Linked DNA regions of Homo sapiens: region 2 is linked to region 1. The links are contacts of gene promoters, found by promoter capture Hi-C in blood cells and fetal thymus (Javierre and others, 2016). All regions are on one chromosome and are shown on one strand. Each heading gives the region's core, a stretch centred on a gene start or on the middle of the fragment in contact. The rest is flanking DNA. Distances are from core to core; before and after follow the strand shown.

Region 1 (4,559 bases), core at 966-3,465:
GCTTAGTAGAAATGGGGAAACAAGCCTAGGGATGCCAGTTATACGCTTTGTTCAAAGTCACCCAACTAGGCTGTAGCCGACCTAGAACTAGCAAACAAGTCTTAGAACTCCTCATGTTTCAGCCATTCAACAGCACTGAATATTAACTGTGTTCTAGTCTTTGGGAATAAACAAGATATTTCAGAGATGGCTCCCTAAAAGATATTCTATGTAAAACACTGTGTGCTTAATTCCATTTCCTTAAACCACTCACAGATAGTTGAACAAACAATAACATACGTTGAGAAACTAAAAATATACCTCCAAATGTGGAATAAAAGTTTTGTCACTTTCGAGCGCAACCACTTTGGCACCAGCTTCAAGTAATGCCTGAGTCAGGATTCCAGGACCTGGCACATTAACAGAACGAAAAGTTTATTTGTACAAGAAACATAATCTCTTTCAATACCAAACTTTCATTAGATGTTTCACACGTTATTACCTGGTTTTTAAATCTGACAGCATCCGCAAAGTAGATGTCACTCTCCTTTTTACATATAAGGAAACAGGAGATTATATATACTTATTTGACTCCAGCGTCAAAAGTGATGCAGCTTGGCTTTGAAATCATTGTCAGCGACTGCAAAACCTGCACTCTTTTTTTTTTTTTTTTGAGACGAAGTCTCACTCTGTCACCCAGGCTGGAGTGCAGTGGGGCAATCTCGGCTCACTGCAACCTCTGCCTCTTGGGTTCAAGCGATTCTCCTGCCTCAGCCTCCCGAGTAGCTGGGATTACAGGCGCCCGCCACCACGCCCGGCTAATTTTTGTATTTTAAGCAGAGACGGAGTTTCACCATGTTGGCCAGGCTGGTCTGGAACTCCTGACCTCAAGGGAACCACTCGCCTCGGCCTCTGAAAGTGCTGGATTACAGGCGTGAGCCACCGCACCAGGTCAAAACTTGCACTCTTCATCACCATGATTCACTACCTCTTAGAAGAAAAAAGTCACAGCAAAATAGATTGCCTCTAGCCTATCACTTCCTCACGGACTACACGGATGCTTTAACCATCAAAGAGATTGTCAAGCCTAAACAGAACTGACTCCCTGTGATATGAAATGGTGCTTTAAAAAACTATCATTCAAAAAGCCTATAAATCTTGTGTTCTTAGCATCCTGCTATGGTCTATAGGGAATGCACGGAAGAATAAGATAACATCATTTTTTCAGCTGGCAGAGGCTTGCAACTCTTTTGGGGAGATAAGATCTAAGAGCATGTTTTATCAAAATATTGTGTAAAGTGCAAGCTGCTACAGAAATACTTTGTGGTGTCATTAACGATACAGACTCTACGCTTATGTAGTGGGCAATCTCTCCAACTAAGGAGCTTCAAACAAAGACCCGTATCTGGACGGGCGCAGTGGCTCACGCCTCTAATCCCAGCATTTTGGGAGACCTAGGGGGGAGGATCACGAGGTCAAGAGATCGAGACCATCCTGGCCAACACGGCGAAATCCCGTCTCTAGTAAAAATAAGAAAATTAGCTGGGCGTGGTGGCGCGCGCCTGTAGTTCTTGCTACTCGGGAGGCTGAGGCAGGAGAATCGCCTGAACCCGGTACGCGGAGGTTGCAGGGAGCCGAGATCGCCCCACTGCACTCCAGCCTGGCAACACAGCGAGACTCCGTCTCAAAGCAAAAGAACAACAAAAAAGACCCCCCAGTATCTAAAATAGCACCCCGAGGAGGGTCAATACGTTTGAATAAATGATGAACATCCAAGAAAATGCAATTCAGCTGGACTCACCTGGATTGCACTCCAGCAGTAGGTGTGGAGGTCTACTTGGTTTTCCCAAATAGATTTGCGCCAGGGTCTCAGCCAATCTCCGATCGGTTACGTAACGCTTAAAGTCTAAGCTGGCCTTAGACGCCTTCCTTGGCGGATTCCTGAAATCCGGTTCGGGCCACAGCTGCGGAGAGGAGTCAGAGAGCCCACAGTGGTTCCTCGCCGGCAAATGCTTTCGCGTCGCCGCTTCAGACCCTAAAATGCAAAAGCGACCAGCGCCCGCCAAGGCGGAGAGCCTCAGCCGCCGAGGAAGCCCGACCACTGGGATCCACATGTCCTTGTCTCTCAGGCCCGCTCCAAGAATCACCTAGTGCAGCTACTACAGTGAACCCCACGCAGGGTATCCCACGTGGAACATTTTCTGGCGTCCGGGCCAGGTCAAGCGGAAGTAAACACTAGAGCCTGCGCATGCGAACAGCGGAGCCTTCCTGCTTTTCTCCCTCACTTCCGCTTCCGCCTCGGCTCAGCCGCCCGAGGATTGTGAGTGGACCGTTGAGGAGAGCGACCGACCATCCGGCTGGTGTCCGGACTCGTACTCTATGGTTGTCCGCGCTCTGCGCTTCCTCTCTAGCCGCCAGTGCTCTATGCTCCGCGGTCGCGGGCCGCCAGCCTCCAGCCGGCCAGCCGCGAGGGGTGCGCAGAGGGAGGCGGGGCGGAAAGGCGAGAGGTGTCTCCTCCACCGGAGCCAGGGGAGACCCGAGCAAGCTCCGTGACAGCACGTCGGCCGCCATGTCGCCGAGTGGGGCTGGAAACAGACCCGGCGCCCAGCGGTAGCCCTCCTTGCGCCTCCGATTCCCAGGTGAGGAGAGGAGGAGCGGGATGCAGGGGACCCGCCGGCTCGCGGCCGGGATGGAAAGCCTTTCGGAAGCCTCTCGCTCCTCCCCCTGCGCTGTCCTCCTCCAGCCGCGCAGCCTCTGCCCTCCGGGTGAGGTGTAGCCCGGTCCCCTTACCTCCTCCGCCTCTCAGGTCGCCTGTTTTCCTCTCCTTTCTCAGCTACTGTGGGTCTCCTATTGCTGCGCGTCGCGCCAATTTCTCCCTCCCTAGGGGACTAGCGCCAGAAGTCGTTCCTCACCCGGCTCCTGGAGGAGCCTGCGGCTTCCACGGTCTCCGTTCCTTTCTGTTGTGTGGCCCACAGCCCGCTCTCCCCACCCTCGTGGATGGTTTTCATTTCCCCCCCACACCTGGTCCCCCCCATCACTACCACTTTGGTTGTCAAGAACCGCGTGGTGTCTCCCTTCCATTCCTCTCTCTGGGCCAATATTTTCCTTAATTTTTTCAGTTTGTGTGTTTAAAAGACTTAAAGTTAAGATTAAAAATGAAGATGTAAAAGCTTACAATTCCTTTCTAAGCTTAAAAAGATTAAGACTTTAGGATGCTTACTGTATTCCTTATGTAAACTTAGTCAAACACATCGTACTGTGGAATGCGATTTAAAAGACCCAATTTTGAAGACTAAAAATAGGATGCTGTAATGGAAATTTTGGCAGTCTTTTTTTTTTTACCTATTGGGCAATGTTAGAAGACACGGTTCTTTGAGAGTGTTTTCCGTGTTTCAGGATCAAACTTAGAGCTTTTACCCATTATCCTTACCACCAAGGCAAGAAACGGCAGCCAATCAACTCCGTGTCTTAGAATACGTACAATCCTTTCTGCTTACTCTACTGAGAGTGTAATTGAGTTTGGCATTTAAATGCACGAGGAAAAGGTTCCTAAGGAATGTATCACCCAGCAAATAGTCTGAAGATTATACTCATCTGATGAAGCTCAAGCGGATAAAGAATTGACAACTAAATATGACCTTTTGTGTATTATAAATTTGTTAGGACATCATAGAAAATATCTCATCAACTGTTGTGCAAACTGTGGGGACTCACTCATTGGTCTTAATTTGCTTAAATTCTTTTTTCGTACAGTTTTCTCACTGACAATTTTCTAGAGGTGACTTTGCATCCTCTGAACCTCTCTCCATTACTGAGCTGCCTCCCCCTCTCCCCTTAAAAAACATTTTCATAGATTCAGAAATACACTTTTTTCCCCCTCCAGGACCTGGAGTCCTAAATATTTTTAAATCAGATAAAATAGAATTATGTCTTCATGGTTCACTCATAGAAATGTGTCGTTGAATTTCTGACTTTTTAAAAAAAACACTGTGGTGGCTGGGTATGGTAGTTCATGCCTGTAATCCCAGCACTTTGGGAGGCCAAGGTGGGAGGATCACTTGCTGCCGGGAGTTCGAAGCCAGACTGGGCAACATAGACTCTGTCTCCTTAAAAAAAAAGAAAGAAAGAAAAAGAGAAAAAGAAAAATAAACACATTGTGGTTAAAAACAAAACAGTTATTTTAAAATGCACTGTCTTATTTCATAATGTTTGTGGACCAAAGTTAGCCTACTGAGTCCTAGAAAAACTGATGTCATTTTTTATTTTGCTTTTGAGTGTTATTATTTTCTCTTGGTTTTGGGAAAGAGAATTACATTATAATATTCCCTTTTTACAGTGTTGATGGTTCACTTGTTTGTAATTGAAGGTACTTGAATAATAAGAGATTTTTGTACATCTTATTTTTTTTCTGAGGTCCCAGGTGCTGAGAATGTTGATTTCACCTTAAAGATGAACTTTATGATCAGGATTTAGACATACTTTATTAGAAAAACTTGATTAGTGTGCAGTATTTCCCATCTTTTTTCTTAAGAAGTGTGGTTTTCTATCCTATGCTGTTTTTGCCTTTTTGAAGTAATTTT
Region 2 (4,265 bases), core at 390-2,889, 1.7 Mb before region 1:
AGACTAATCATCTAGTTCTTCTAAATGTCATTTTGTGCCAGGCAAGCAATATTCAAATGCCACAGTTAAAAAAAAAAAAATCCCTTACTTCACAATCTTTCTTCTCTTCAGGCCCCTTTGGTCCTCTAACTCGATCCTCTAAGGGGACGTTCTGGATGAAAGTATACTCTTCAGGTATTGGAAAATATGGCTTTTCCTTCTGACCAAAATTAAATTCAACTGCACAGTTGTGGCAGAGAACATGCGGGAACAGTGGCCGTCCAGCAAGAACTTCCTTACTGATTTTGAAGGCAACGCCAAGATCTTGTCCATTCTTAGCATACGAGAGTTCTACTTCATCACTTTCAAAGTTCTGTTACACAGAAAAAAATTCAACAGTTAAAATCTGCTTCCTTAAACTTTCTAAAAAACTAAGAATTAAAATTAGGAGCAAAGCTTATCCTGTGGAAGCTACAGGTTAAAGAACTATTAGGTGGCCTTTAAGGGCTACACAGTTAAGAAATCTGATGGTTGTAAACCATGAAGCACGTATCTCCAGAACCAGAAACAATACTGACCTAGAAGCTAGACTGAATTTTCTAGGTCAATTTCATGTTCACTGTTTTCAGTCAAAATGAATTAGTGAGTTCCTCAAAAATGTCCTGTGTTTTCCCAATTCAACTGCTGAATGAAGTCTTTACACTAATCCAGGGACTGGTGTATTTTGTTGCTCATATTGAAAACTGACCTCAGTAAAGCTTCTTTAAAGTTCCTAGATATAGCTACTAACTTTGCCATTTATACATAGAAAGTTAGCTTTAACTTACAGCAAAACATGTAATCACATCATTTTCATCAAACTTTTCTCCATAATCTTCAGTCTCACAGTTGCATGTTTTTATTCCTTTTAGAGAATACCCATAAGAAAATTCTTCTTCACCTAAGAAAATAATTAATCTTCATGAAGTAGATGTTTAAAATAGTCCAAAGACTCATCTATTTTACTACTTAAGATGTAGGCTACAAGAGAAATAAGCATATAACCTAATCACCTGTCACTGACACTATTACTTTTCTATCTCTGTACCAGAATTGATGGAAGTTAGGAGGGATATATACGCAGAGACCAAATTAGTTGACGATTTGCATATCACGGGTAAGATTTTATTTCAACCATTGGTCATAAACTTCTAATAAAGGAACAAAAACTAAAATGTAGCCTGTGCCTACTATGTGCTAATATTACCTGTCTGAAGTATTAACAGAATAGATAAAAACAGACAAAAGGCTTAGAATGCCCTCTAGTTAAAAAACACTGAAATCAGACCCTCCTGAACATTCATGAGCCCACATCAGTCAAAAAGAAGCTTTACCAAGTAACATTCCACTTGTAGTTAGTGACCAGCCAATACGAACTTCATGTATGTCAATATCTTTTGTATATAAATGCCTTACTGGGATCTTCTCTGTAACCTGAAAGTCAAATCATTAAATAATTAAAATAATACACCAAGGAGGTAACCCCTTAACTCTCGCATATTTCATTGCGCCACGGGCTAATCTTCCTCTAGCTATAAATACAAAGAAGGCACACTCTAGCCCACCCCCAATATTTGTAAGAACTTTAAACTGATGTGCTTATAACTTGAAATTTAAAGAGTTAAATACTTATTTGACCCATATTTAAAAGAATACTTAATATTTTTAAAGTTCATGTTGTCAGTCTTTAACTTAAAGCCAATTAAAGGATACAATTAATGTTTTTCTCACCAACAAAAGCAGTAATGTAACCAAATTTTATTTTTAACTCTTTGGTGGCCCTTTCAAATGCTTGATAAAAATGAAGTACCCTAAATAAAAAATCGCCTAGCTCTGCATGGCAAGTTCTAACATAACAACCGTGATTAACTGTCACAACAAAATGAAGGTTCCAAGCTCCTCTTTTAATTTACAGGAAGCTTCAAAAATAAGTACCTTTGATAACTTAGCAGTATGAAGCACCTGTAATTCCAGCATTCTGAGAGGCTCAGGCGGGCAGATCACTTGAGCTTAGGAGTTCAAGACCAGCCTGGGCAACATGGTGAGACCTTGTCACTATTTTAAAAAGGAAAAAAAAAGGCTGGGCACAGTGGCTCATGCCTGTAATCCCAGCACTTTGGGACGCCGAGACAGTGGATCACCTGAGGTCAAGAGTTGGCGACCAGCCTGGCCTACGTGGTGAAACCCCATCTCTATTAAAAATACAAAAATTAGCCAGGTGTGGTAGTGTGTGCCTCTAGTCCGAGCTACTTGAGAGACTGAAGCAAGGAGAATCGCTTGAACCCAGGACGCGGAGGTTGCAGTGAGCCTAGGTCGCACCACGGCAATCCAGCCTAGGGAACAGAGTGAGACTGTCTCCACAAACAAACAAACAAATCATAAAATTGCATTTACCTTCATCTCAAAACACACTTTGCCTTTTGACACACCATAGGATGCTCTTCCTCCAGCCCAAAGAAAAGCAAAACTCTCCATTGTAAGGGAAGAAGCACTGAGACGATCTCTTGATATTTTAAAATGTAGATCACAATTATCTGTAATTATATCAAATACTGTGTTACTTTTGACATCCAATGTAAACATATCTGCTATGTAGACAAAACTTGGTTACTTAATTTTTGCATGTACTTCTTAATGCTGCACAACTTTTCTCCACATCATGCTGTTGTTCCAATTTTCAGTTTAAAGCCCCACTCCCACCAAGTCACTCCTGTTAAATTATGTACTGAAAAGTAAACTGCCTGTGAAACTAATACCAAGGTTTAACATGTATATTTTAAGTATTTAAAATAATCAAGACAATGTGACATTAATACATACCTGCTCTGCTCTTTACCTTGATTTAGAGGCAAGCAGTAGAGGATAGCAGGAAATCAAAGTGAAGCATGCCAGAACCAGGTAGATTTACCAGTGCCACATTAAAACTGAAGGGAGGCCACGACCAAATTATTTTAAAATAGGAGTATGAGCTGCTGTTGATCCTGCACCAGGGCTCTAGCTCCTAAATTCTTTTTCTAAAACTTGTGAAGAAGACAGCCTAAAACTATGAAGTACAAACCTGGCCGTCTAATGCTGTTAATAGTGCAGCATTTTAGGTCCTCTTTACCCAGGACTGCCTGTTCAACAATTAGGGATTAATTGCTTCCCGGATTATCCAAATCCAAAGTGTCTTTAACCCAGCTACCTATGGGTCACTGGCTCATTAACATGCACTTCCTCAGACTTCTCACTTGAACAGCTAAAGTCAAGCTGGAACTCATTTTCTTTTTACTGATCAGAGAAAAATAAATCTACAGTTTGGAATTTTTCTTAAATTAGAGTTATTCTAATCAACAGAATTTAATTCAACAGATTGTTTGAATTCAACATTGTACTTATATTGACATATTCCTGATTTGCTAAAAAATCTAACAATTACATTACCTGTGTGAGTCACCACTTCACTACCTTGCCAATTCCTAGCAACTTATTTATACAACCCAGAATTTCACTAAAACTTTCACATCAACTAACTCCTTTTTCACCTGCAGTTTTTTCTTTTAAAAAGGCTCAGATGACTATCTCAACCTTCTGTAAAGGATATTCCAGTAAGAAAGAGTTTTACATTGACACTCTTACAAATCTGAATAAAGCCAATTTGTACAAGAAAACATGAGAAGCTAAGCTCCAATGCCTTCCATCTAACACAGCAGGCTGACACCATAGCTGATACTTTTGAAACAGTTATTTTTATCCTTTGGTCTATTTATCACACCCAGAGTTGTACATTCTCATCACTAAACCAACTACGTTTTTTTGTAACAAAAAAAAAAAAAAAAAAAACAAGTCTGACAGTCAAAGCCCACTTAGAGGTTTGCAATACTTTCTCACTCAATTGCAACCCAACTGGGTAAAGTAGCAGTATTTACAGTGCTGCACTGCCATTGATACCATTCGCTGCTGAAGAAAGCTAGTGGCCCAGTGATAGCCCACTGCTGCTGCCTCAGGTCTTTGGAAGAAATCAACTTATGTTTAAAGCAGCAGCTACTGAACTGGAATTGAGAACAAAAGAGCAGTTATTGAAAAAGTAATATTACAATCTTTTAAAATAGGGAATATACTTGTGTGCTAATGGGAGAAGTCATTAGTAAATATTTAACTAGCCCAAATAGCTCACTTAATATAATTCCACAAAAAAATGAATTACTTTATTGTAGAAGCCTGTAAGGCTAAATTATAGGTAGTGTTACAAGTTTCCGTTAGCTAGT

What was found. The method cuts DNA at HindIII sites, captures the fragments that hold promoters and counts their contacts. A CHiCAGO score of 5 or more calls a contact.
Region 2: a fragment that was not itself captured here is called in contact with the fragment with the promoter of TFB2M in region 1 in 1 of 17 cell types (fetal thymus); the score reaches 5.5 in fetal thymus.

Annotation. Positions count from the first base shown.
Region 1 is chr1:246,564,046-246,568,604 of GRCh38, forward strand. TFB2M (transcription factor B2, mitochondrial) reads right to left here and starts at 2,216. Exons shown (of 8, transcript NM_022366.3): 1 at 1,781-2,216; 2 at 301-389. The coding sequence starts at 2,093. It overlaps CNST (consortin, connexin sorting protein), which reads left to right and starts at 2,411. Exons shown (of 11, transcript NM_152609.3): 1 at 2,411-2,618. RefSeq lists enhancers at 1,906-2,185, 2,416-2,475, 2,516-3,015. The HindIII fragment of the contact is 6,532 bases long and covers 1-3,147 here.
Region 2 is chr1:244,857,923-244,862,187 of GRCh38, forward strand. It overlaps HNRNPU (heterogeneous nuclear ribonucleoprotein U), which reads right to left. Exons shown (of 14, transcript NM_031844.3): 4 at 2,413-2,552; 5 at 1,353-1,452; 6 at 807-919; 7 at 89-352. Among named protein-coding and RNA genes, the nearest start is that of HNRNPU, 4.5 kb to the right of the region's middle. The HindIII fragment of the contact is 591 bases long and covers 1,345-1,935 here.